6 separate regions of the Homo sapiens genome follow, and all the other regions are linked to region 1. Evidence: promoter capture Hi-C in human tissues and cell types (Jung and others, 2019). All regions are on one chromosome and are shown on one strand. The core of a region is centred on a gene start or on the middle of the fragment in contact, and the rest is flanking DNA. Distances in the headings are between cores, read along the strand shown. Region 1 holds the start of ABCD4 (ATP binding cassette subfamily D member 4). Region 2 overlaps FCF1 (FCF1 rRNA-processing protein). Region 3 holds the start of ZNF410 (zinc finger protein 410). Region 4 overlaps AREL1 (apoptosis resistant E3 ubiquitin protein ligase 1). Region 5 overlaps LTBP2 (latent transforming growth factor beta binding protein 2). Region 6 overlaps LTBP2 (latent transforming growth factor beta binding protein 2).

What was found. The method cuts DNA at HindIII sites, captures the fragments that hold promoters and counts their contacts. A contact is called where the count stands out against the background at its distance.
Region 2: a fragment that was not itself captured here is called in contact with the fragment with the promoter of ABCD4 in region 1 in 2 of the 25 tissues and cell types used here (hippocampus and liver).
Region 3: the fragment with the promoter of ZNF410 here is called in contact with the fragment with the promoter of ABCD4 in region 1 in 1 of the 25 tissues and cell types used here (pancreas).
Region 4: a fragment that was not itself captured here is called in contact with the fragment with the promoter of ABCD4 in region 1 in 1 of the 25 tissues and cell types used here (bladder).
Region 5: a fragment that was not itself captured here is called in contact with the fragment with the promoter of ABCD4 in region 1 in 1 of the 25 tissues and cell types used here (hippocampus).
Region 6: a fragment that was not itself captured here is called in contact with the fragment with the promoter of ABCD4 in region 1 in 2 of the 25 tissues and cell types used here (lymphoblastoid cells and spleen).

What each region holds. Positions count from the first base shown.
Region 1 is chr14:74,300,806-74,305,429 of GRCh38, reverse strand. It overlaps ABCD4 (ATP binding cassette subfamily D member 4), which reads left to right and starts at 2,496. Exons shown (of 19, transcript NM_005050.4): 1 at 2,496-2,555. The coding sequence starts at 2,518. It also overlaps a transcript of VRTN not described here and the pseudogene SUB1P2. RefSeq lists an enhancer at 2,048-2,407 and a silencer at 2,668-2,747. The HindIII fragment of the contact is 36,493 bases long and covers 1-4,624 here.
Region 2 is chr14:74,737,477-74,742,100 of GRCh38, reverse strand. It overlaps FCF1 (FCF1 rRNA-processing protein), which reads right to left. Exons shown (of 8, transcript NM_015962.5): 8 at 3,481-4,624. Among named protein-coding and RNA genes, the nearest start is that of YLPM1, 24 kb to the left of the region's middle. The HindIII fragment of the contact is 3,351 bases long and covers 1,161-4,511 here.
Region 3 is chr14:73,884,499-73,889,122 of GRCh38, reverse strand. ZNF410 (zinc finger protein 410) reads right to left here and starts at 2,264. Exons shown (of 12, transcript NM_021188.3): 1 at 2,208-2,264. It overlaps PTGR2 (prostaglandin reductase 2), which reads right to left. Exons shown (of 10, transcript NM_001146154.2): 10 at 3,397-4,624. RefSeq lists enhancers at 2,205-2,274, 3,906-4,015 and a silencer at 2,325-2,604. The HindIII fragment of the contact is 8,605 bases long and covers 1-4,624 here.
Region 4 is chr14:74,683,444-74,688,067 of GRCh38, reverse strand. AREL1 (apoptosis resistant E3 ubiquitin protein ligase 1) reads left to right here. Exons shown (of 20, transcript NM_001039479.2): 3 at 2,408-2,468; 4 at 3,388-3,614; 5 at 4,535-4,624. The coding sequence starts at 2,453. Among named protein-coding and RNA genes, the nearest start is that of AREL1, 27 kb to the left of the region's middle. The HindIII fragment of the contact is 5,032 bases long and covers 1-4,624 here.
Region 5 is chr14:74,597,703-74,602,326 of GRCh38, reverse strand. The region is part of intron 2 of LTBP2 (latent transforming growth factor beta binding protein 2); the gene reads left to right. Among named protein-coding and RNA genes, the nearest start is that of LTBP2, 12 kb to the left of the region's middle. The HindIII fragment of the contact is 8,248 bases long and covers 1-4,624 here.
Region 6 is chr14:74,570,110-74,574,733 of GRCh38, reverse strand. All of the region lies in intron 3 of LTBP2 (latent transforming growth factor beta binding protein 2), which reads left to right. Among named protein-coding and RNA genes, the nearest start is that of LTBP2, 40 kb to the left of the region's middle. The HindIII fragment of the contact is 5,179 bases long and covers 1-4,624 here.

The DNA.
Region 1 (4,624 bases), core at 1,247-3,746:
TGGGCATTACTCTGCTCTGCTGCACTCCAGTAGCCTCCCGCTTGCTCACTGGTAACTCTGGTGTATTACTTCTTCTTCTTCTTTTTTTTTTTTTTTTTTGAAACAGTCTCACTCTTGTCACCCAGGCTGGAGTACAATGGCACAATCTCAGTTCAATGCAACCTCCGCCTCCTGGGTTCAAGTAATTCTCCTGCCTCAGCCTCCCAAGTAGCTGGGATTACATGCACCCGCCACCACACCTGGCTAATTTTTGTACTTTTAGTAAAGACGGGATTTTGTCATGTTGGCCAGGCTGGTCTTGAACTCCTGACCTCAGGTGATTTGCCTGCTTCGGCCTCCAAAAGCGCTGGGATTACAGGCGTGAGCCACCGTGCCCAGCCTGCTACTTCTTAAAAGTTTACAGTAATAGACAATGCTGAGGCACCCTGGGACAGTAATGCCACCGAATACCAAACTAGGACATTTTTGAGACTGAAAGGGGACAAGATCTGTAAACCTAGATTACCCTAGAGAGGTGACGTTGCTTGCTTTAATACTTTGGTTGCCTTATTAATTTTTCAAAAATTGCATCCTATTTTTTTGGTTTTCAAAATAAGAAAGACATACTTGAATAAAGTTATTTCCTCTTCAAAGTCTTTCTAGATTCCACTTTTCCCCATGCTGAGTTAAATGCCTTTCTCTTTGGTTCTGGGGCAGTGGTTCTCAATGCTAGGGGGTGGGGTAAAGCTGGAATTTTGGTCCTTTCTCCCCTAAGGGACATTTGGCAATGTTTAGAGACATTTTGGGATGCCTAGGTCAGAAGGAATGCCACCGGCATCTAGTGCGTAGAGGCCTGGGATACAGCTAAACATCCTACATTGCATAGGAAAGCCTACACAGCAAAGAATGATCAGGCCCCAAAACTTAATGGCGCCAAAGTTGAGAACCCCTGCTGTATGGTATGTTTGTCATAGCACTTCATAAAGACAGCTGTAGGCCGGGCACGGTGATTCACACCTGTAATCCCAGCATTTTGAGAGGCCAAGGTGGGTGGATCACCTGAGGTCGGGAGTTCGAGACCAGCCTGACCAACATGGAGAAACCACGTCTCTACTAAAAATACAAAATTAGCCGGGTATAGTGGTGCATGCCTGTAATCCCAGCTACTCGGGAGGCTGAGGCAGGAGAATCGCTTGAACCCGGGAGGCACAGGTTGCAGTGAGCCAAGATAGCACCATTGCACTCCAGCCTGAGCCACAAGAGCGAAACTCCGTCTAAAACAAAAACAAAAACAAAAAAAGGCCAGGAGCGGTGGCTCACTCTTGTAATCCCAACACTTTGGAAAGCCAAGGCGGGCAGATCACCTGAGGTTAGGAGTTCAAGACCAGCCTGACCAATATGGAGAAACCCTGTCTCTACTAAAAATACTAAATTAGCTGGGCGTGGTGGCACATGCCTGTAATCCTAGCTACTCGGGAGGCTGAGGCAGGAGGATGGCTTCAATCCGGGAGGCTGAGGTTGCCGTGAGCCGATATCGCGCCATTGCACTCTAGCCGGGGCAACAAAAGCAACACTCCGTATCAAAAAAAAAAAAAAAAAAAAAAAAATCTGTAATTGTCAACTGATTGACCTACCCAGCTAGACTGCAACTTTCATAAAGACAAGTGATACATGCATGTTGTAGAGTGTTTGGCTTGCAGTTGAAACTTAATAAGGATTGGAGGAAAGTGAGAAGACACATCCAGATTCAAATTTAGGGACCTGTGGGATCATGCTGTTTGGGTTTTTTTTGAGCCATTTCCCACCTCCCTTTGGGTACTAATCAGTCAACTGATAAGCATTTCATTCATTCAACTATCTATCTTATCTATCGATCATTATCATCTATTTATTTGTTTTTGAGACAGGGTCTCTCTTTGTCGCCCAGGCTGGAGTGCAGTGGCACAGTCACGGCTCACTGCAGCCTTGACCTTCCGGGCCCAAGTGATTCTCCTGCCTCAGCCTCCAGAGTAGCTCGGACCACAGGCGCTCGCCACCATCCCCGGCTAATGCTTTTGTCTTTTGTAAAGGCGGGGTCTTGCCATGTTGCCCAGGCTGGTCTTGAATTCCTGGGCTCAAGCGATCCTCCCGCCTTGGCCTTCCAAAGTGCTGGGATTACAGGAGTAACCCACCGGGCCCGGCTGGAAGCCTAATTTATACTTTTTTAAAGATCATGCTGGCTTCTCTGGGAGAATATGTAAAACATCTATTATACACAGAATCTAAAATACTTGCCATAAAGTAGTTACACTCTCGGATACCTATTGTCAAAAGGGAAGTCTCCCAGAAAATATGGGGGCGCTGTAGCCGCCGGGTCAGCCGAGTCCACTCTCTGGTACTTTTAGAGACGTCGGTCGCTTCCGGGAGAGTCCGCGTCTCCCGCACCTTCCTCTCTATCAAACGCCGTCTCTGTGGTAGCCGGGGCCCCGCCCCTCCTCGGACTCTACCCAGTACTGAACTAGGGGCAGCTGGGCTCCAGAGTCCCTCGGGTCTCAGGTCATGGCGGTCGCGGGGCCCGCGCCCGGAGCTGGCGCCAGGTAAGCAGGGCGGTCGGGGAGGAGGTTTGGGAGCAGGAGTTCCGGGCTGTAGGGAATGGGCTTTCCTGCCCTCCGTGCCTCGTCCGCCGCCCTGGCGCCCCCGTCTCGCCCCCGTGACTTCTGAGAGAAAGAGGAGCTCTCGAAGGGGCGTCCGCCCTCCCGCCGCTCTAGGCCGCTCCGCACCGGCCGCGGCCCCCTCCGTTCTTGGCCGGACTTGTGCCATCTCCTGCGGTGTGGGACCCTCACCCTCGCAACTGGCATTCTTTTTTTGAAAAGAAGAACCTCAGGTGCACAAAATTGAGTTGATCCTTCTCAGTTCTTGACACCCTGTGGGCCAATGCAAGGCTCCTTGTTTATTTTATCACTTCCTCTCTTCGTTCCTATTCCCAGACCCCTTTCACTCCCCTTTTCAGACAGCCACTCTGGTGTGTTATATAAGTGGCTTTACGGTCCACCTTGGGTAAATTTGTGCAAGTGTTACTTTGAAATCTATATAGCGGTTTCGAATTCTTCAATATAATATGCTGTGATTTTTCTTTAAACCTTTTTCCTCAACATTGTGTTTTTGAGTCCATCCATGCTAGTCATCTTGTTTTCACTTCTGAGTGCTTGCATGAGGGGTGCTGTGTGCATAGACTTATTCCCCTAGTGGTGGATAGATTTTTTTCTAGTATTAACACCCCCACAAGCCACACTGTAACGAATATTCTGGCAGTTGTCTCCTTGTGCATATTGTTGCATTTCTCTGGGTATCCACCCCAGAGTTGGGTCCTGGTCATATCTAATTTTGCTGGATTGTTCTTTGGAATGGTCACACTAGTTTATACTTCCCGACGGGCAGTGCATAAAGCTTCCTGTTTCCCGGTATCCCTCCATCGTTCAGTGGCGGCTGGTTTTGTAATGTTTATCAGTCTGGGGGGTGTAAGGTGGTATCCCATCGTGTACATTTTCTTTCTTTCTTTCTTTCTTTCTTTTGAGACGGAGTTTTGCTCTTGTTGCTCGGGCAGGAATGCAGTGGCATGATCTCGGCTCACTGCAACCTCCGCCTCGGGTTCAAGCGATTCTTCTGCCTCAGCCTCCTGAGTAGCTGGGATTACAGACGCGCGCCACCACACCCAGCTAATTTTTTGTATTTTTAGCAAAGATGGGGGGGTTGGCCAGTCTGGTCTTGAACTCCTGACCTCAGGTGATCCACCCGCCTCGGCCTCCCGAAGTGCAGGGATTACACTTCCCGACGGGCAGTGCATAAAGGAATTACAGACGTGAGCCACTGCTCCCGGCCTACATTTTCATGTGTTTATTAAACGTGGGTTTTCCCTTTTTTGAATTGCCTGTTTATATCCCTTCCCACTTCTCTGTGGATTTCCTATGTTCCTGGCTTGCAGGAATTCTTGTAGGCTCTAGATTTAGATCCTGGCCATGCCCGGTGGCTCACACCTGTCATCCTATCACTTTGGGAGGCTGAGGTAGGTGGACCACTGGAGTCCAGGAGTTCAAGATCAGCCTGGGCAACATGGTGAAACCCCATCTCTACCAAAAATACAAAAATTAGCTGAGCGTGTTGACGCACGCCCGTACTCCCAGCCACTAAAAAGGCTGAGGTGGGACAGTCGCTTGAACCCGGGAGGCAGAGGTTGCCCTGAGCTGAGATCGCACCACTGCATTCCAGCCTGGGCAACAGAGCAAGACCTTGTCTCAAAAAAAAAAAAAAAAAGATTTTAGGCCAGGCGCGGTGGCTCACGCCTGTAATCCCAGCACTTTGGGAGGCCGAGGCAGGTGGATCACCGGAGGTCAGGAGTTCGAGACCAGCCTGACCAATATGATGAAACCCCGTCTCCTACTAAAAATACAAAAATTAGCCGGGCGTGGTGGCATGCACCTGTAATTGCAGCTTGTCAGGAGGCTGACACAGGAGAATCACTTGAACCAGGGAGGCGGAGGTTGCAGTGATCCGAGATTGCGCCGTTGCATTCCAGCCTGGGCAACGAGCAAAACTCCGTCTCAAAAAAATAAAGATTTCAAGTCCTTGTTGGTTTTGCACTCTGCAGATACCACCTCCAAGTCTTCTA
Region 2 (4,624 bases), core at 1,587-4,086, 440 kb before region 1:
GTATCCAAGTCTTTGTATGGACATGTATTTTCCTTCTCTTGGGTAGATACCTAGGAGTGGAATTGTTGAGTTGTATGGTAAATTTATTTTTCCCTTTATTTCCAGCTGTCCTGTGCCATTCTGTTCTAGCTATGTCTGTAAATAACACACAGCCACAAGATTAAAAAAAAAAAAATCAAATCTGAGCATCTGTCTTTTAATGAGGCTATTTAACCCAGTCACATTCATCATGACTACTGCATGTCTAGTCTTATTCCCACCATCTTACTTTTTTTTTTTTTTGAGATGGAGTTTCGCTCTGTCACCCAGACTGGAGTGCAGTGGTGCGATCTCGGCTCACTGCAAGCTCCCCGTCCCGGGTTCACGCCATTCTCCTGCCTCAGCCTTCTGAGTAGCTGGGACTACAGGCACCCGCCACCACGCCCAGCTCACTTTTTTGTATTTTTTTGGTAGAGATGGGGTTTTAGCCAGGATGTTAGCCAGGATGGTCTCGATCTCCTGACCTTGTGATCGGCCTGCCTCGGCCTCCCAAAGTGCTGGGATTACAGGCATGAGCCACCATGCCCGGCCCTTATCTTACTTTGTTTTGTATTTACCGTTGCTGCTTCTTCCCTCTCCTCTTCTACATTTATTTTTCCTTTTAGTTTTTTAAAAAATTTACACATAATGAAACATACAGTTCACCAATGGTGCAGTTCCATACATTTTGACAAATTCTGCTTTTTTTTTAATTAATTGAATTTCTTTCTGTTTTCTCTCTTGGTTTAGGAGACATACATTCGATATTAATTATGATTGGGTTTGGCTATGTAAAGTAAAACCCAGGTAGGCACTTCCAATGTGTTAGTAAATATGGTCTCTCAATTTTAAAGCTTGTATTTAAAGCTTTTAACAGTTCTCCCATAGAAAAAGAGCGTAACTCTCCAGTGAAAGCTCTGGTTACAACTAATTGGCTTGTCTTTGATATCCAGGTTTGAAATAATCACAATGGCAATGGAATAAGGATATTATAATTGGCCTATCCAGGATGATTCCACTCATATTATGGCAGCAAGAGGAGTGAGCCACAATCCAGTCCTATAACTTTTTTTTTTCTTTTGAGACAGAGTCTCACTCTGTAGCCCAAGCTGGAGTGCAGTGGCGTGATCTCAGCTCATTGCAACCTCTTCCTCCTGGGCTCAAGCGACTCTCATGCCTCAGCCTCCTGAGTAGCTGGGACTACAGGTGAGTGCTACCACACCTGGCTACTTTATTGTATTTTAGTAGAGATGGGGTTTCACCATGTTGCCCAGGGTGGTCTCGAACTCTTGAGCTGAGGCGATTCACCTGCCTCGGCCTCCCAAAGTGCTGGGATTACAGGCATGAGCCACTGCGTCCAGCCTGACATTAATTTATTTAAGGAATTCTGTACCAGTGAAGAGACGGAAGAGAAAGCTTTATCTTCAGAACTTTTTCTATCCATTTATATATATACTGTATATTTCTAAATAAACAATTAAATATTTGTGATATTAAAACTTAAAACCAATATCACACTGTACCTGTTCTATAATTTAGTTTCTCTTAATAATAGGTCATAGTTATTTCCATTTAAGTGATATAGCTCAATCTCATTTATATTAATTACGGTAAAAGACACATAACAGAAAATTTACCATCTTAACCATTTTATTTTATTTTATTTATTTTGAGACAGAGTTCTTCTCTGTCACCCAGGCTGGAGCACAGTCTCGGCTCACTGCAACCTCCGCCTCCCAAGTTCAAGTGATTCTCCTGCCTCAGCCTCCTGAGTAGCTGGGATTATAGGTGCGTGCTGCCACACCCAGCTATTTTTTTTGTATTTTTAGTAGATACCGGGTTTTGCCATGTTGACCAGGCTGGTCTTGAACTCCTGACCTCAGGTGATCCACCTGCCCCGGCCTCCCAAAGTGCTGGGATTGCAGGCATGAGCCACCCTGCCCGGCCATCTTAACCATTTTAAAGCATACAGTTCAGTGGCTTTAGTACATTCATACTGTCGTACAACCAATCTCCAGAACTCTTCATCTTGCAAAACTGAAACTCCATACCCATTAAACTGTCTATTCCCCAATCCCCACAGCCACTGGCAACCACTACACTACTTTCCATCTCTGTGAATTTGACTACTCTAGATACCTCATATAAGCGGAATCACACAGTATTTGTCTTTTTGTGACTGGCTTATTTCACTTAGCACAATGGCTTCAAGGTTCATCGATGTTACAGCATGTGTCAGAATTTCTTTCCTTTGTAAGGGTGACTCATATTCTGTTGTATGTAGAGAGCACATTTTGTTGATCTATTCGTCTGCTGATGGACACTTGGGTTGCTTCCACCTCTTGGCTATTGTAAATAATGCCGTGATGAATATGGGTGGGCAAATACTCTAAGATCTTTGATTCTTTTGAATACATGTCAAGAAGTGGAATTGCTGGAATCATGTGATAATTTCATTTTTAACTTTTTGAGGAACTGCCATATTCTTTGTGGCTATACCATTTTACATTTCCAGGAACAGCGCACAAGGGTTCTGATTTGCTTCTTTTAGAGACGGTGTCTTGCTCTGTTGCCCAGGCTGGAGTCCAATGGCGCAATCATAGCTCACTGCAGCCTCGAATTCCTGGGCTCAGGCCTCTCACCTCAGCCTTCAGAGTAGCTGGAACTATGGGCATGTGCAGTGCACAGCTAAGGGTTACAATTTCTACATATCCTCACAAATACTTTTTAATAACTATTGCTTCTTTCTTTTAATAGTGGCTAAGGGGTGTGAGGTAGTATATCATTGTGGTTTTAATTTGCATTTCCCTAATGATTAGTGATATTGACCATCTTTTTGCATGTTTCTTGGCCACGTGTATATCTTCTTTGGAGAAATGTTTAAGTCCTTTGCCCATTTTAAACCTACCTCATTTTTTGTAGATAGATGTTCATGACATTCCATAGTTAAGACCCCCCACCGCTTTTTTTTTTTTTTTTTTTTTGAGACGGAGTCGCGCTCTGTCGCCAGGCTGGAGTGCAGTGGCGTGATCTCAGCTCACCGCAACCTCTGTCTCCTGGGTTCAAGCAATTCTTGTGCCTCAGCCTCCTGAGTAGCTGGGACTACAGGTGCGCACCACCACACTCAGCTAATTTTTTTATTTTAGTAGAGACAGGTTTTCGCCATGTTGCCCAGGGTGGTCTTGAACTCCTGAGGTCAGGCAATCCACCCACCTCAGCCTTCCAAAGTGCTAGGATTACAGGTGTGAGTCACCATGCCCGGCCACAGTTAAGATCCTTTTGATGGACATTTAGTTTGTTTTTTCTCTTTTATAAGCAGCAGTGCAGTAAACATCCTTCTACCTGCTTCCTTGTACACATGTGAATGTTTCTTCGCATACATATCACGTTGTCCATGCAGAGGTATTTTAAAGTGAATCACCTGTATGATACTATAAAGTTACCAAAAAAATAGAATTGGGCTCACAGGATATCTGCAATTTTTATTTTAGTGGATCTTGTCAACAGCTGTAAAAAATGGCCATAAATATTTGCACTTCTGTCAGCATGACATCAGTACTCATTTCTCTAAACCCTTGTTACATGTATTGGAAAATCTCATCAGTCACTTGTTTTTTAGGGGAGGGGAGTGTCTTGCACAGAAATCTATAATTTTAATATATTCAAACTCTTCAATCTTTTTAGATTCTGCTTAAGAATTCTATCCAAAGGTGATAAACACGTTTTTCTTTACATTTATTTTCCTAATGCTTCCATAGCTTAGAAATAAGTTTAGGGTGGGTGCAGTGGCTCATGCCCATAATCCCAATACTTTAGAAGGCCAAGGTGGGCAATAAGGCAAAATCCCATCTCTGTAAGAAATACAAAAATCCCAGCTACTTGAGAGGCTGGGGTGGATCATCAGGGCCTGGGAAGGTCAAGGCTGCAGTGAGTCATGATTGTGCCAACGCACTGCAGCCTGGGTGACAGAGTGAGAAACTGTCTCAAAAAAAAAAAAAATTTAGGTCTTTGATCCACTTGAAATATTTTTATGAATCATGTGAAGTAGGAAACTAATTTTTTTCTCTCTCTCTTTTTTTTTTTTTTTTTTTGAGACAGAGTTTCACTCTTGTTGCCCAGGCTGGAATGAGTGCAATGGCATGATCTCGGCTCATCACAACCTCCATCTCCCAGGTTCAAGCGTTCTCCTGCCTCAGCCTCCAGAGTAGCTGGGAATACAGGCATTTGCCACCATGCCTGCCTAATTGTTTTTTTGTATTTTTAGTAGAGATGGGGTTTCTCCATGTTGGTCAGGCTGGTCTTGGGCTCCTGACCTCAGGTGATCCGCCCACCTTGGCCTCCCAAAGTGTTGGGATTACAGGTGTGAGCCACCACGCCCGGCCTAATTTTTTTTCAAATGGATAGCCACCTTGCCATTGTGTAATAATCACTAACATTTACTGAAGAACACTTACTTGGGCCAGGTACTATTCAATTTAATCTCACTTTATCAGGTTTGTTTTGCGGATTAAACACTTTAAAGAGGAAACAAGGAAGGCAACAGATGGTTATATGGTTTGTCCAACTCATACAGATATTAACTGGTGGAATTAGTATTCTAACACTA
Region 3 (4,624 bases), core at 1,015-3,514, 420 kb after region 1:
GTTTAAGTCATCCTTAAGGTTCCTCCAACTTTGAGATTCCAGGATTGTAAAATCTCTGAGGAACCAGACAACTATTTACTGTCCTTTTTATGTTATCTATGACATCTTTTTATTTCAGTGTTTTCACTTCAATAATCTTTAAAAATTAACACGAGCATTTTCTCAAGCACTGGGTATTCATATTATAACTAAGTACTACCATACAATTTTTGTGTCCAAGTTTATGATTTGTATGTGTACGGTATGAATAAAATAAAAAATAGCAGGATGCATTAAGATATGCAACTGAACTCAAAAGAATTTGTACTAGAGCACTCAGTATCTTATCAAGTGTACTGTGGGGATCTCATCTTTAACAGAGCAACGTACTATGTACATTAGCTATAGGTGTAACGGCAAATACACAATTAAACATTCCTATTCCCAATTCCTTACTCAACAGATTTCCAAAACTGCAATGTAAATCTTTTTTAAAAATTAGTTTCACTAAGATATCGTTCACATACCATACTATTGACTCATTTAAAGAGTACAATTAAAATATCTTTAGTTCATTCAGAGTTGTACAAGCAGAACCACGATCAATTTTACAATATTTCATCACCTCACAAGGAAACCCTGTGCCCATTAACGGTCACTTCCCACTTCTAATGTGTTTACTATGAGCTTAAAGGGCTTCCATACAAGCTTCCCAGTAAGCAACTGGTAGGTACTAAATATTTGTATAATGAATGAATGACACTACAAATGATACCTACATTTTTCTCTAGTCATCTCTTCTGAACTCCAAACCTTCATTTCTAACTGCTTGCTAGGTATCTCCACATGTATATCCAACAGCATCTCAAACCTAACAATGTCCAAAATCCAGATTATTATCTTCCTTACCAAACCTGTTCTTCTTGTATTACCTATTTCAATGATCGCCCAATCTTCCTCCCACTCAGCTGCAAATTCTAGGTCTTTAAATCTCTCTCATTCTCCATTTTTAAATAATTCCCGTGATTCTCTGTTCCCAGAATGTTCTCTGTTCCCTACTGTAATGCCCTGTTTAGGTCTCTCAGTAACTTTCTACTATACTATTAAAACAGGCCTCTAACTGGTCACCCCGCGTTTAAAATTCCTCTTTCCAATACATCCTTTATGCAGCCATTCAAGTTATCTTTCCAAAACAAAGAAATGCTTATGTCACTTCTACTCAAAGTTCAGTGCCTCGGAAAAATTGTCATAGCCCTAAAGGTAAACCCCTTCGTTTACAGAAAAACTCCCCAGAGCTAGAGATTCAGCAACTTGCCAAAAATTAGACATCTACTTAGATGCAAAACGTAAAAAACTAGAACTTAAAACTTCTGACTGCTACTTTAGTTGTCTTTTACTCTGCACCACACTAAGAAAAAACCAAGTGCAATTTCTCACTCCCTAACAAAATGCCCGACTTTATTTCCAAATGTTTTTTATTTATTGCAAATATGCTGCGTTGACCTTCGTTCCAACCTAAGTACTAATTCTTAAGTCCCAAGTTAATAATATTTAACTTCCAAATGGTGCCTAAATGCATTTCTGAGCCTCATGATCAAGTGGGATAAACTTTAATAAATTGGATTATCTTGAGAAACTTCAGAAAATAAATTCGACACGAAATGTATGAAGGCCGTAAACAATCCACACACTCCTGCCCCCCGAACTGACAGGCAAAGGAGAAACGGGCGACCCAGCCCAGCCGAGTAGGCAGCTGTCCCTTTTCCAAACCCAGAAAGTAAGTGGTATGAAAGGAGAGGGTAGCTCTGGACTGAAACATTCAGGGCAAGGCCTCCTGGCATCCTCTACCCCACACCACAAAGGCCTCAGAAATAAGGCCCCAAGGTCCGTAGGCAGGCCCCGGCTGCGGGTGCAGTCCAAGAGCCCCCGCCCCGGGGACTCGCTGACTCTGGCTTTCTCAGGACAGTCTGTTCCTATATCCCTACCCCCAAAACCAAGCAAAGGAGCAAGAACATCGCCCCTAAAAACCCGCGAGGGGAAGGGCCAAAGCCGCAGGGCTTCAGACTGGCCGCTCCCGGGCCCGCCAGATCCAGGAGGGATGCCCAAGGAGGGCGGTTTCCTCTCTCGGGGCGAACTCGGCCCCAGGCCCCAAGTAGCCGGTACTGGCCCCCGCCCTCTCGGGTACTACCTAACCGAGGAGGGGTGGCCAGGCCCACCTCGGAGCTCACCTTCCAGTTCCGGGAAGCCGGCCGGCCGTCAGTCGGTCCCGAATTCCGTCCACACACAGCGTCTTCCGGCTCCCGCCGGAAGCAGCTCGAGCGCGGGACAGGAAGTTTGGCTGACCCCCCACGCACACACCCACTCGCTCGCCTCAGTGTCGTGTGGCTGCCGCACTGCTCGGGACCCAGACGTCAAGGGTGCTGGCGGGGCCTCCCCAGGCCCGCGACGCAGGGCTCCGCCCCGGACAGGAGGAGCCGCAGCCGCCCCGCTCCCACTCACTCACTCACTCTCGGCCTTCGGGACTCCTATGTCCGCGAAGCCCGAAAAAACAGGTCAGCTAATTCGTTGACGTCACTGCCACCCCGCAGTAGCGGAGGGAGTAGTTTTTCCCATCAGCGGAGGCGTTGCAATGGAGGCAAACGCGAAAGAAAAGATCACTGCTTAAACATTTATCAAAGGTCTCCATGGAGAGGACCTTCGAAGTTTCACCGCCCGAGAAAGGAACTTGCAGAATCAAGTTTTGCATTATATACGGGACGGGGTATGCAGTGAGTCTGGGTTCCGTGTTGTAATTAGGATGTAAAGAGCTCTTGGATGTCCCGACTGCGGGCTTGAACACTTGACTTCCAAGCTGGATGCCACCTTGTTAAAGCTTTGTGAGTTTGACTGACTTCTTGAAATTACTTATTTTAAAATATTTGCGTGCGGAAGAATGAGAGACTCAACCGTGGGAATTAAAGGAGTTCTCTTTAAAAAGGCATTTTCAAGGTTAAAGATAAGCCTTGATGACAGGTTTGGGTACACAAATTACTAATGGTGATTTAAAATAAAGGAGAAACATTTCAGAGGAAGATAATTCCACTTTAGAAAAGCAGAGTAGGCCGGACTCCGTGGCTCACGCCTTTAATCCCAGCACTTTGGGAGGCTAAGGTGGGCGGATCACGAGGTCAGGAGATCGAGACCATCCTGGGTAACGCCGTGAAAACCCGTCTCTACTAAAAACACAAAAATTAGCCGGGCGTGGTGGCACGCGCCTGTAATCCTAGCTACTCGGGAGGCTGAGGCAGGAGAATCGCTTGAACCCGGGAGGCGGAGGTTGCAGTGAGCCGAGATCGTGCCGCTGCACGCCGGGCGACTGAGCAAGACTCCATCTCAAAAAAGAAAAGAAAAGAAAAAAGCAGAGTATAAGATGCAATCCAGAGTTGAGGATATTTACTTGGAGGTAAAGGTCCAGTGCTCAAGAAAGAGGTCAGAAATACAGATGGAGATTTGGGAGTTAGCAACATACAGAGAAAAGTGAAACCCCCTCAGGCGATGAAATGGTCCAGGAAAAGTAACAAAAAAGGGCCACTCACGAAAACTGGGGAGGCTGATTACCAACACAGTTTGAATCTACTTATTACAAATGTTGCATACAAAAGTATATTGGCAGTGTGTAGACAATCATAAGCCAAAACATTCAGAAACAATAATCTTCAGTTTTACTGTTCTGCGAGGGTTGAGTACAATTAATAAAACAAACTTTTGAGGTACATCAGTAGTTCCTGAACATTCATGTTTACAAACATTTGTTAATTTGCCCAGTCCTGTCATTTTCTGAAACTGTCTTTGTTGTCAATCTGTTTTTGTTTTTTGAGATGGAATTTCACTCTTGTCGCCCAGGCTGGAGTGCAATGGTGCAAGCTCAGCTCACGGCAACCTCCCCCTCCCAGGTTCAAATGATTCTCCAGCCTCAGCCTCCTGAGTAGCTGGGATTACAGGCGTGTGCCACCACGCCCAGCTAATTTTTGTATTTTTAGAGAGATGGGGTTTCACCGTGTTGGCCAGGCTGGTCTTGAACTCCTGACCTCAAGTGATCTGCCCGCCTCTGCCTCCCAAAGTGCTAGGATTACAGGCTTGAGACATCAGGCCCGGCTGTCAATCTTTTTAATCACCTACAAGTGATGTTTACATCTGTTTGCCCTCTCAATCTTTACAACTTGACAGTATGTGCCTGCTAACCTAAAATAAACATATGCTTTTCTCAATATATATGGAGTTTTTAGGCTATACAGTAAATTATTTGGCAAATACAAAGAGATGATCCTCTGGAGTAAATCTTGTCAACTTAACCAACCTAAGTTATTTATCTTCCCATACTAATCCCAACCCAAAACCGCTGGTCTCCTATCCCAAAAACTGTTACACAAGCTCCGAAACCCCCAATCCTGCCCCCAGTCCCTATGTACACATCATACCATTAAGTCTCTTTTCAGTCTACAATGTGAAAAAAAGGCCATCTCAATTCTATTTTTACACCAAGTTTCAGTTTAAGAATCATGTAAAACATTTCCAGTTCAACAAATCTTTACTCAGTGCCTCTCAAGCATTCTATTTTATTTTAAGCATTCTATTTTAAATTAATAAAAGTTATTAATATTAATTT
Region 4 (4,624 bases), core at 1,200-3,699, 380 kb before region 1:
GGTGACAGTGTGAGACTCCGTCAAAAAAAAAAAAAAAAAAAAAAAAAAGTAAGTACTCAGTATTTGTTGGACGAATTATTTTAGGATGAGTTTTTAACCCTTTATTGTAAAATTTTTTAGGCATAAAATTAGAATAGTATAAAGAACTCCCATGCAGACTGTTCAGGGACAGTAATAGAAGCCATGCCTTTTGAAATTCAGATGCATTTCTCTTTGAAGAAAGTGTGGGCCAGTAGAGAGGAGTTTCCTATCAGCTTTGAAGTAAAGGAGTAGTGATACTGGCGCTACTATTGATAATAATTGTAATAATCATTAAAACTTTGAGAACTCACTGTGTGCCAGGCACTACTGTAGGCTGCTTACATGTGTTAACTCATTTAATCCTCACAGCACCCCGTGAGGTACATATAAGGAAACTGGCACTCCTTTACAAAGATTAAATGACTTGTCCAGGGTCACATTATGAATGATGGGGCATGGATTTGAAGCCAGGTAATCTAACTCTAGAGTCTGCCCCCTTATCCTCTATCTTATGCTATTTGTTATGCTGTTTGGCTAGAGCTTTGATGGCCATGGGGAGTTGCATTGAAGTCATATCATACTAAAGGAGATGATACCATAGAAATTATTAAATTGCAACTCTTTTTACAGCAATGAGATTCTGAAGCCTAGATAGGTCACACAGTTTGCAGTCCTGGGATTGTTCTCCAGGCTTTTCAATTACTGCATGTCAGCTGTCTCTCACAGAAGGGTTGTTGTAGTTGTCAGAGATAGTAGGTGGGAATTTTTCTAGCCCTCATGACTCAAGCCATACATTTGGCACTGCTTTTATTCCTCTAAGAAGACCACAAATCTGTAACACCAGCCACATATACTTCATTTCTTTGCTGAGTGCTGTAACTTCCCTGAGGACCAGAAATTTCACATCTAGGGTCAGATCGAATGGCATCCCGCTGAGGAAGTACCTAAGGCAGTTAAACTGCCAGTTTTGGTCCCACCAAGTCATCTAGTGCATCCTGTAAGATGCAGACAGATGCTTTTTGAGAGATCGTAGCAGATTTTTGAGATGATAGCTGTTGGGTCCCCAGCTAATTCAGCATAGGGTCCCAAGAGATGAGATACTTGTTTGGGAAGGAGGTTCAGTAGTTGTGATCCCAAATTTTGGCTCTTTATATTGTCTGTAATAGACCCTTTTGGGAGCACCTTCATCCACGTGACAATTCTAATGTTCCCAGTGTGGATTTCTTTTCTAGTAGGACTTTAGATAATCACTCTAAGTAGGATTTGTATGAAACTTTTGACGGTCATTCCTCAAATTACCTACTCTCTGTGGGTTCCACTGGGTATATTGTTATCAGAGGAACTAAGCAAGCACAATCAGATGTAAAAACACACCCTGAAAAAAAGTTGTTTTGGTCCCTCCCAGATCTGAGCCTAGAAATTTTTAGCTGTCTTGTCTCTACGTAATATTCTAGTGCTGATAAAAGGTGTTGGGTCAAGATAACATTGACAGCCTTAGTGTACGCTGACTTGAAAAGAAAGAGTGCATTCATGCATTGTAAAATAGCATATACAGCCTGTGCTAAGGTCAGACTCAGTGATAAGATATGAACGTTAGCATACATTGCATTTTTCCTTGGCAGTACTTTTATTGGTTCACATGATCAAATGAGTAATTAAGATTGAAGTCTTATTCTGGAAACAAGTTTAACAACAGTGAAAGTCTTCCCTCAGACTCCTACCTTGACAGGCATGACTGAGGATGAGAAGTACAGTCTCCTTTTGTTCCTCTCCTTGGTCTTTCTGCTGAGCTCATCTTCCAGAGGGCCCATTAGTTTGTCTGATTGGTAACAGCATAAATGACTTCACTTTCAGACCCACTGCTTATTATTGGGATGACCCAGAGTTCATTTTAATTACATAATGCCAACATGATGATAATGATACTTGCTTTAAAAAAAAAAAATCTACATTTTATATAGCTATTTCTACTTAGCTGAATTACTCCCAAAAGGCAAACATAAGGGGAAAGTGACTCCATTACCCTCTTTGCATGTGTTAATTAGCACCACTTTGCATGAGGGAGGGAAACTGTCTTGGGAACTATGGATCTAAGAAGATGAAAGCCATGTTACTGCATTTTGAAATTAGCAATAAAGCAAGTGGCTGTTTGTGGTATTCCTAGAGTGGTCAGTAGATTGGAAGTCTTTAAGGGGAATGATGCAGTCTCTTTGTTTCTCTGAAATATATTATACGGCACCTGTCAAGCTAGAAAGAGGATAGGAATAGTAAGGCTCTGGACTAGAGAGAGTTGTTTGGCTCACGCCATACACTCTTCTTTGTCTTACTCTGAGATAGCTATGAGGCAGAGTTGGAGACAAAAACTAAACAAGTTTTCTTTTAACAGCTGCAGCTGTGATCCTCGGCTGTCTGTTGGCATTGACGGGACCTGATGTTTTACGTTATTGGTACGTTATGGAAAGAGCTCTCTCTATTATATTTTTGTAAAGGTTGCTTGGGTCCTTTTTGCCTTTCTGCCTATTCTTTTCCCTTTGAAAATGGAGCTGAAAATATTTCTAGTCGTGCCAGAATGTACCTTCACAGAGTTGGCATTGGAATTCATTCATTTGGGTTTATTGAGCAATTATAGTCAATGCCAGACACTGTTTACTGTGGAGTCTAAAGTTGAATAAGACAAAAATCTGCCTTCAAGGAGTAGGCATTCATAACATAAAGGGGAACGGTCAAGGAGGAGAAAAGTTATACCAGATGAATGTGTAGGAGTTTGAAGGAGCCCAGAAAAGGGAACTGCTAACTCTGGTGGGGATTGGAGAAGACTTTTGCCAAGTACACAAGGGAGGGGAGGGCTCCCAAATAATGCATTCTTTAAGAAGGAAATGGTGGGAACCAAAGGCACATCCTTTTGACTGCTTCTGTGGGGTGCCCAGCAAGTGCAGGAAGGTAGGGAGCAGGGCGGACATTATATGCAGCTCATATAGAGCAAGAGTTTGCAAACTTTTTCTATAAAAGGCCAGAGAGTAAATATTTTTGGTTCCGAAGGCTCATTTCAATGACTCAACTCTGCCAGTGTAGTGCAAAAGTAGCCATAGACAATTTATAAATGATGGGTGTGGCTGTATCCCAATGGAACTTTATTTACCAAAATAGGCAGTGGGTGGGCTTTGGCCTGAGGACTGTAGTTACTGACCCCTGGTGTAGAAGTTCCTTTCTTATCTACAGAGGTAGTGCCCAGTGCAGTGTTTCTTTGGCAGTCTTACAGTCTCATCCTGACCTCCTTTAATTTTTGAGAAATGGCTGGCCTGTTGCATAATGAAAAGCTGTAATGTGTAACTGGCAGGCGGTTTGTGTGTTCTCTCTTTTGCATAGGTGGAATCACAGTGTCTGTGGTTGCATTCTTCTTCACAATTAAGTTCCTCTTTGAGCTTGCCGCACGTGTAGTCAGCTTCCTCCAGAATGAGGACCGCGAGCGCCGAGGGGACCGGACTATTTATGACTACGTGCGGGGAAATTACCTGGATCCCCGGTCTTGCAAAGTCTCCTGGGATTGGAAGGACCCCTATGAGGTGGGCCACAGCATGGCCTTCCGAGTGCATGTAAGGGAATGTTTCTGTCTCCATACCCATTGGGGTTTCTGAGTAACTTGCTTTCCAGAGCCCAGGTGCTGGCCTGGAATGTTAACATTTTCTCTTGTTTTTCAACTCCCTCCAGGAACTAGTGAATTGCTACTATCTGAAGAGTCACAAATTTCTCTGTCATTTTGATTTAATAGGTCCTTAGCTTTGAAGAAGTATAAAGCTTAATGTTACCTTTTCAAAATAAGAAAAATATTACAGAAAAGAGTAAGTATTATAGATAGGGGTTAGCAAATCAGGCCCACCTTCTGTTTCTTTAAATACATTTGTCTTGGAACACAGCCACACCCATTCATCATGTATTGACTATGGCTGTTTTCACACCTGAGTAGTTATGACAGTTGAGTAGTTGTGTACGGTCCACAAAGCCAAAATATTTACTCTCTGGCACTTTACAGAAAAAATTTCCCAACTCCTGCATTGACTTCTCCACTGTAGCATTAAGCTTGGCTTGAGAGTCTGAACCCCTCCTACCTTTGTCTGGTAACGCTTTAGTTCACTCATTGCCAGTGCTGCCGGCTAACTTACCTTTAAATTTGGGTTAGCATTGATAATATAAAGGGCTGGTAAGACCAAGGAGGCAGCATTGGTGGTTCAGAAGTGGCAAGTTAAAATGGACATTTTCTTGATTTAGTGGTAAATTCTACCCTTGTCCTCTGAACAAGTTAAGAATTTGCTCATGACTTAATGGTTTTCTTTAGAGTATTGAGGGGATTTGTTTCTCTCTGTGTTTTTGTGAGCAGGACTGTGAGGAACAGGGTAGGTACTGGGATTTACTGGTGTGGTCTCTGCCAGCTACTTCCTCTCTCCCCACTCACTCTACACAGGAAATGTTTTTTTCCTCTGCTTGCTAACAGGTGTCCTTCTTCTCCCCATGGCAGTTATTCTATAAGAACGGGCAGCCTTTCCCTGCACATCGGCCTGTGGGACTAAGAGTTCACATCTCTCATGTCGAGCTAGCAGTGGAAATT
Region 5 (4,624 bases), core at 812-3,311, 300 kb before region 1:
ACATGCATTATCTTAGTTCGACCTGTCAATCATCTTATGAAGTAGGTGTATGCTTATCATCGTGGCTTACAGATAAGGAAGCTGAAGCTCGGGTTGCTTGGGAAACACGGCCAAGCTCTGCTGCTGCAAGTGCTGAGCTCGGGCTGGACCCAGGCAGACTGACTCCAGAACTCCAGGCTCCGATCTCCTGGGCTTCGTTCACTCCCGACACCAGCGAGGCCTGGATATTCCAGAGTGTGGAATCCCCACAGACCATAGCAGATATGGGAGTCTGAGGGAGCCCGTTGGATCTTTCTCCTTCCTCCCACAGGCCCCTCTTGGGTCCACATCAGCTCCCCAGGAACTCCACCTGACTATCCTTCAGGTGACTGCCCCTGCCTCTGCCAGTCCCAAGCCTGGCTGCAAAGCCTCAGTCTCAACAGCTCCCTTCCTTCAAGGACCAGCCCCAGGCCCTTCTCGGTAGGAGGGCTTCACAGCTAATAGTCCAGGTGTGTGAAAAAACGTATGATGTTCCCAGCATGATGGATGCCTTCATCTGGGAACATCATACGTTATTCTATGATAACGTATGATAACGTGGTTGTCCTAACACCCCACTTGATGGGATGCGATGCGATTGCTCCCATTCCCGCGAGTCTGGAGATATGGGTTCACCAAGCTCTTGGCTTCTGCCTCAGGCCTCGTGGCCCTGACCCTCTGCCTGTTTGAAGATGCAGCTCAGGCAGAATTTTGGGTCCCTCCTAGGACCTCCAAATAACAGAACCAGAGCCAAAAACTCAAAAACAAACAACGAAGCAGATCTGCTTAAACACCCTTTCCTTTTCAGGGAACGTGGATGCCTGGGGGCGGCTCAGAGGTCAGGCCCTCAGTGGTCAGGGGCACCGGTGGGGAGAAACACTTGTCCCTCATTATTTATTTTTATTTAATTAATTAATTAATTTTTTGTAGAGACAAGGTTTTATCATGTTGGCTAGGCTGGTCTCGAACTCCTGGCCTCAAGTGATCCTCCCACCTCACCCTGCCAAAGTGCTGGGCTTACAGGTGTGAGCCACCACGCCCAGCCCCTCATAATTTTAAAGAAGAAAGTGAGCCTCAGAGAGGCGGTGACTTGCTCAAGGCCACACACCTTATTGGAAAAGAACCTGAGACTCAAAATCAGCTCTGAGCAACTCCTCTGGGTAGAGAAGCCAGGGATGTGGGCGGCCAGGTGGCTTTATGCTAAGCAGAGGCTCTGGGGCTGGGGCCTGGCACTGTAATTTTTTTAACAGCATCCCAGGTGATTCTAGGTGTGGTCAAAAATCACTGAGCAGAGTTGGGGGTCAGTCATAGGAAGATCTGCCTTGGGGGCCCTCCTCAAACTTGAATGTTCCCCCAACCCTCTAGGAATCACATCAAAGAGAAGATTCTGATTCAGCAGATCTGGGGTGGGGCGGATATTCTATGTTCTAACCAGCTCCCAGGAACGCTGACGCTGCTGGCCCAGGGACCACACTTTGAGTAGCAGGGCCTTCCAGGACTCAGGAGGCCTGGGCAGGAGGGACTGGGACTTGGAGGTGAGGAAGAGGGTTGGTATGTTTGAGAGAGCTTAGCCTTTGTTGGGAGGTTGGGAGGCAGCGTTGGCTGATGGAGAATGTTGCTGAGGTTTGAGCTGAAGCTGCAGCGGGTGGCTTCATAGGGGGTGGGCCTTTCCCCAGCTGCCCCAGGGGTCTGGGCATAGGTCTCACTTGGGCCCTCCAGCCCTGGAGGTTCTCGGTTTCCTAACTTGCTAGTGATGTTCCAGTGTTATTCTCTGCCAAACTGGAGTTTCAACCCTAGAAACTCAAGGTTGAGTGAGTTTGCATACTGTTACAGTACCAGTGCATGTGTGTGGGGGCATCCTTGTGCCCCAGTGGGTGCTGCGCCAGGATGCTGAGGTAGGATGCTGCCATACCTTCTCCCCTGGTATTTCTCTCCCTGGCCGTCTCACCCTGCTGCCCCCGGTCACCCACCCTGACCCAGGCATACAGGCCAGCTGCTCTCCTGAAGGGAGTTGCCAGTGGGCAACAGCCCCTCCCACTTGAAGTTGGCTCGCCCGTGGCAGGGCTGTGTGCTCATTAACTGGTCCCTGTGCTGTTTGCTTGTTGCTATTTGGCTGCTAATAAGCCTAATGAGAACCCACGCAGGCGGGCGGTGGGGTGTTGGCACTGGATGGCTTCATCCAGAGCTCCGCAGAAGGTGGGGCTCTTGGCTCCACACCCCGTCAGCTGGCTCTCCCCCACCCCTGTGGCTCCGCACCTCCCTCTCCCCTCCCAACAGCTGCCCTCCTGGCTGGGGCAGAGACTGCCAATGTTGGGGAATGTTCATGATTCTGTCCTAGCAGTTTCACACATGAAGGGATGCCTTCCTGGGCCAGTGAGAGATGGGGGCTGACATCCCCCACTGCCAAGAGTAAAGTCTAGTGCCAGAACCACAGGGAGACTCAGTCTCTCCCAGATATCTGTGGGCCCAACCCACTGCCCATGCTCAGGGAGTGCTGGCTCCTGCTCAGTTGCCCTCTCTTGCCTCTGGCAGAATCAATCCCAGGTCACTGTCACACACCAGTCCATCTCCCGGGCCTGCCCTCCTTCCGCCCTGTTCTGCAGGTGCCCATTGCTGGAAGCCCAGCCCCTCCTTCCACCTTGGCGGGGGCTAGAGCTGGGCCGCCATCTCCTCCTCCAGTCTTGGTATCTGCCTTTCCTTCTGTAGCTTTGCCAGCTCTCTCTCGGGACTTATGTGTTTATGTATTTGTGGAGGCAGCTGATTGCGGCCTGCCGGGCCCTGCCCAGCAGAGGGGAAGAACTGGAGGGTGTGGAGTGACAGTGTCCTGTTTATAGTTGCAGCTTTTGGAAGACTGTCCATTCTTCCCAGACTGGCTCCCGCCCAACCCCACCCCAACTGGGGAAGGGGATTTGAATACTCCCTAGACTTCTCATTTTATCTCAGCCTGGACGCACAGGGGCTGGGGCTGCTTTGGGGAGGACAGAAGAGAATCCCTGCAGCTGTCGAGGAGGGGGCAGGCAAGTTACTCTCCCACTCCTGCCCCCAGCAGCAAGGCTCGAGATTAAGAGCATGTACTTTGGATTCTGGCACCAGATCCCTGGAGACGTGTTTGAGTCCCAGCTCTGTGTCCTGGGGGAAGTGACTGGCCCTTTTCTAGCCACAGGGCCTCGTCCATAAAATGGGCATAACAATCTATATAGAGTTGGTTTTGGGGATGAATGATATGAACGCGATAGCTCTTACTGTGCACCAGGTACCATTCTAAGCACTTCATATTGTTCATTTTTAATCCTCACAACAGCCCTATAAGCTAGATTGGATTTTTTATCCCCATTTACAAATGAGGTCGGCTGTCTGTCCGAGTCATGCCTCTGAGACTCATCAGAGCCCAGACATGAATCCAGGTAGCCTGGTTCCAGAGTGCGAGGGCTTAGCTCTGTGCTTTCTGATAAATGAGTAAATGTGTGTAGACAGCCTGGCGCAGGCTAAGTTTAGCTGGTATTTTAATGCTAGATCAGGAGACCATGCTGGACTGCCTGGGTTTAAATGTCAGCTCTCAGCTCCACCACGTGGCTGAGGGGCTATGGGCAGGCTGCTTAAAGTCTTTGTGTCTCGGTTGCCTCTTCTGTAAACTGGGATCAACATTGGGCCCTGTCTCCCAGAGTTGTAAGGAACAAACACCGTCACTTAGGTCAGATGTTTAGCTCAAGGCCTGGCATGTGCGATGCACTCTATACATGTTTGGCCTTGATTTTGAGGGCAGGGACTGTGTCTCACCACCCTCAGCAGGCAGCACGCTGGGTACAAGGTAAAGGGTCCATAAGTGTATACTGAATAATACAGAGCCTATCCCGGCCGTGTGCCTGAGAGAGCCCTTTCTGTTGCCCAAGTTCTATCAGCCCTTCCAGAAACTCCCCACGGTGTTCAGGGGATCCTGGGGATGGTGACGCTGGAGTGGGCCTGAGCATTTCTCTGCGTGTATCACGTGGGCAATGGAATGGCATTTCCCCAAGTCCCCATCTCAGTCCTACGAGAACCCTGTCTCTCCTGATCTGAGCTCCTCCTTGGCTTCCTTGAGGGAGCCTGTTTGCCCCATTCATGACAACCACATCCCAAAGTGGAAGACTGTGGCAAGGTGGCTAAGAGCCCCAGCTTTGGAGTCAGGCTCCCTGAGTTCAAACCCTTGCTCCATCACTTACTAGCATGGTGATCTTGGGCAAGTTGTTGATGGTTCTGCCTCAGTTTCCCCATATGTCAGATGAGGATGAGAGTAGTACCCAGTGTAGTTATAAGAATGAGATGTTTATGTGAGGTAATACATGTAAAGCAGTGAGCGCAGCACCTCGCTGTGGGAAATGCTTAACAAGCCTTAGGAAAAGGAGTAAGGGCAAGGGTAGGATTTTCATCTTCACTGACTGGTTAGCACCCACCAGGAGCCAGGAACCAGGAGCCAGGAAAGTCTCATCTCCGGATGAACCAGCCAGTGGGGACTCTGAAGTTGGCAGGGAGTGGTGGAGAGGAAGGTGGGAGGTGGCGAAGGGTAATAATTATATGACCTCAGTGGAACCCAGCTGATATGTAGGGTGCACTCTCATCAAGAGACCCT
Region 6 (4,624 bases), core at 1,221-3,720, 270 kb before region 1:
TGGTTTCAGGAGAGGACTCCTCCCAGCCCTGCCCCAGGTCCAGCCCTAAACAAATCTCTGAGATACGAGCTATTCACCTTCTGTCCTCCCAGAGCCTACAGTTCGGTGATGGGGAAAGCTACCTTTTCCAGTTCATCATCATCATCTTCATCATCAGTAGGATTTATTGCACCCTGCTGTGTTTCAGGCATTGTGCTAGATTCCTACCCTATTCTTTTCCTCCTTGCTGTCCCCACTTTAGAGTCACCAGCTCAGTGACATGCAGGACATGGATGTTGTACAAATGTCTTTTGGTCAATTGTGTCGTGTCCAAATAGTGGAGTATAAATGGCATAGCACAGGGACCAGCACCCAGGAGCACAGGGGTGCAGAGGTTCCCCAGAGCTCATCATGGCCTTAGTGGTGTGCTTAGAATTATGGTTACCATGGCGGAAGTTTGGGTTAAGATTGACTAGCACTAAGGTTGTGGTTAGGGTGACATTCTATTTAACAGTACGGTAGTGGTTAGGGTAAGATTAGAGGAATAACTTTAGCAGTGCAGCATTAGGGTGAGGTTTTAATCTTAGGATTGTGGTCAGGGTTGGGTTAGGGTTATGCTAAAGTAACATTTAGGACTGTGGGTGTTTTCGATTGTATGTGTGGTTGTTGTTCTAACCCACCATTGATGGAGCCTTATTGAATAAGCTGACAGTTTACAGGCACCACCTAATTTAATACTGGGGACAGCTCGGCACAGTGGCTAAGAGCATGGGCCACGAGTCAGACAGATCCCGGTTCCACTTGACTCGGTTACTCCCCAGTCGTGCTATCAAGTGTGTTCTTTCACCTCCCCGAGTCTCAATGTGAAAGACTGATGATACCAATACTGGCTGCGCAGAGCTGTGGTCAGAATAACACAAAGGAATGTGGATAAAGTGCCGGCTCACATAGGTAAGTGCTCAGTACTCGATAGCAAATACTTTTTCTTGTCTGGGTCAGTTAGAGTTCCAGCAGGAAAGGGATGGCACACTCGATGTATTTATTTACAAAAGCACTGGCAGAGTCAAGAGAAAACAATGAATAATGGTGGAGTATCCCAGGGTAGTTACGTAGGCAAGCTCTTACCCTCCAGGTCTAAAGGGGCAAGGGACCAGCAGTCATAAGAACCCAGGGTAGCTCAGGCTATAGGAGAGGGCCATGGACAGGGCTGCGGCCTCTGGTGGAGGAATGCAGCCACTGCTCACCTGCAGTACCTGTTGCGAGGGAGCTGGGAGGATCTGCACCTCCACTCACCCTTCTCCTGCCCTCTGACCTCCTGCCACAGTTCCCCACTGATGGAACTGGACCAGAAGGCAGAGGGCAAAGGAATCTCCCAGGACTCAGAGTGGGATGGAGAGGGATCCAGGGGCAAGTGGAAGATCTTCAGCACATTTGCCAGTCCTTGCCATGACCCTGTGAGGAGGGTATTCCCATGACTCCCACTTTGCAATGAGGACACTGAGGGTAAGGGCGATTCCAGCCTAGCTCTCCTCGACTTCAGAACTTGTGATTATAGTCATTGTGCGAACCAGCCTCCAGGGCATGTGAGCGTAGGCAAGTGCGGAAACATCCAGCTTGGCTTGGAAACTGCAGAGTACTGGGTTAGGCAAGGTATCCAGCGTCTTTTCAGAAAACTACAGAAGTCGGTGAGAGCCTGGAGCAGCATTCGGCCTCATTAAAATGTTAATGTATACAGTTTCCAGCACCGGACTTAAAATAACTAGTGACAATAAACATTTCAAGCTTGTAGCTATGTTCATAGCATCTAGCCAACTTAAATCCTGTAGGATTTTTGTTTGAAAGGAAGAGGCTGGGAGCAATGAAGCAAGAAAAGAGAGGAAAGACTGGCAAAGCTCTTTTTCAGATGGCCCAGGGAAGGTTCGCCCCATCCGGCTGCTTTTTACAGAACTGGCTGCTCACTCAGTGAGGGTCTCCCTCTGCGGGGGTATGTGTGTGTATGCGTGTGTGTGTGGCGGGGCGTGGGTGGAAGCTGTGGAGAGAACATGTCTCAAAAGTCATAATGGAGATTTTTTCAGGCTCCGTGAATTCTCCTTTTGAGCTCAAGTTTTTCAAATATGTATCAGGTTTCACCTCTTGTCCAGGACATAAAGGAGGTTTCTGATTTATGGGTCCGGTAGTTTTTCCAGTTACTCCATCTTTAAATCTGCCATCAGTTAATTAATTTGCCACGGTCAGAAAAGGCACTGTGAGCTTCCCAGGTGAAAATAACTTTAGCAAAGTATGATCACAGTTTAAAAAAAAAAAAAAGGGAGGCATTCTGAAACATACACTTGTTTCCACTTGTGAAATTAACTGAATCAGTGTCTCGGCACTCCTCCTCCTCCCCCTGTCATGGCGCATGCACACACACACACTCTCTCTCTCTCTCTCTCACACACACACACACAGACACACACACACACACACACACCCCACCTCTGCAGAAGGGCTAAAGGGGAAGATTTAAACCTGGCAGGATAATTTCCCAGAAAAGGATTAGAAGGGGAAAATGGATTAACTGCAAAGTCATCTGATGACTGTGTTGTATGAGGCTGCTTGGGACCCAGAGGGGTGTATTCGTCTGTCTGTGTCTATCTGTCTGCAGATGACACCGGGAAGATTGCTAAATGATTCCCAATAATGAAATGTGAAAACACATAGTTGCTTTGCTAGCCACATAGCTGTGGTTTTGTGTCTGTGATTCATGGTGGAAGTGAGTAGCTGCGACAAGCATTCTGTGGGTTTTTTTTTTTCTCCTTATTTCTCCTACAAAAATATTTGTGAAAGGTCTAAAAGGAAGTGGAGTACTTTTTGAAAAGAAAAAAAATCCCTGTTCCTTGCAAAACAAAGATTACAGATGAAAACTTCTGGAGCTACCACATTTCTGCTTCCAGATGTCGCCTACGCTGCATTTTCCTCCTGGAGCCTCAGCCCTGCCCACGATGTAACATGTCCACCCGCGAGTGCCCGCAGCAGAGGCCACTTGAGGGAGTCTGCATCTGCAGGGGTCTGGCGGTATCCTCTCAAGACCCCAGCCAGGCCACGCCCTTCCAGGGGAGAAAAATTAATTCCACATTTCTTTCTTTTTTGATGTTCTTGGGACAAGGTCAGAGGCTCCACAAAATGCAGTAGCGTGTGAGGGCAGAATTGTGAAATAATTTATGTCTTAAATAAACCTGAGTTTGAATCTCAGCTCCACCACTTAGCTATGCAGCCTACAGTGAGTGATTTAACCTTGTGAGCTTCAGTGTTCTCATCTGTAGGCTGGGGATGATCATTGCTACCTTATGGAATTGTCAGAAGGATTGACTAATCCACGTAAGTGCATCTGGCACATTTTTGGTCCTCTATAAATGACACCCAGTCTTTTTTGGTGGGGAGGAGGATGGAGTCTCGCTCTGTTATCCAGGCTGGAGTGCAGTGGCATGACCTCGGCTCACTGCAACCTCTGTCTCCCAGGTTCAAGCAATTCTCCTGCCTCAGCCTCCTAAGTAACTGGGGAATTACAGGTGCCCACCACCATGCTCAGCTAATTTTTGTATTTTTAGTAGAGACGGGGTTTCACTATGTTGGCCAGGCTGGTATCGAACTCCTGACCTCAAGTGATCCGCCCACCTCAGCCTTCCAAAGGGCTGGGATTACAGGCATGAGCCACCGTGCCCACTCTTTTTTTTTTTTTTAATATAAAGAAAAGTGGTTTATTTGGTTCATGGTTCTGTACATTTGTTCAAAGTCTCACCGTACCCACTCTTACTTGTCCCCTGCCTCGGGGGTTATCTGAGCCTTTCAGAAATGCAGCAGCGGTCATCAGAAACTTTGAGAATTTGCCCAGAGCACTTGAAGGTGTTTCCAGACCTGGGAGGTTTCTGGTCACAGCCAAGGGTGAGCAGCAGGGTGGGGAAGGGAATCTCATCCCCCAGAGGCAGACAGAGCTCAGCCTGAAGACCCTGGCCCAGCACTTCCCTGCTGGGGATGACCCCGGGCAAGTTAGCAGGCTCCCTGTGCTTCAGTTTTCTCTTCTGTAAAATGGGGACACTAGTTCCTGTATCATAGGGTTGCTGTACTAATCAAGTAAATAAAAAAATAAAATGCCTTAGCAGAGGCCTGGCACATCATAGGTTGACAGATTTGGGCTGCTAGATTGCTGAATGGAAGCTTTCCAGGTTGGGGCCCTAGTTCCCATAGAAATCTCCTTTTGTTTATGGCCCCGGGGTAAATTTCCAGCCCCTGTGAGAGCGGAAAGGGCAGGCTGGGACTTTGGCCAGTTCCTGAAAGTGTATCTTTGACCCAGGTCCCTAGCTGCCTTAGTCTACAGTGTGCTTGTCGGGGCAGGCCCACGAGTGGGGTAAACACATCTGGAGTCAGGCCTGTGTTTGCTGTTCAATAAGCCAGACCTGCTAAGCTTGTGCATGGGCATGTGTGGGGGCGCATCATGGAGGGTGGAAGGGTCCTGAAGGCCATGAGCTGGGAACTCAAGGGTTCAGGAGGTGAGCATCTCATGGCCAAGTTAGTGGTGGTGAGATGTTTGTATACCAGGTTTGCTGTGGCTTTGGGAAAGAGTCCTAGCTCAATCCCCTCAGCCTAGGTGTCTCTCCTCCCCTTCCTC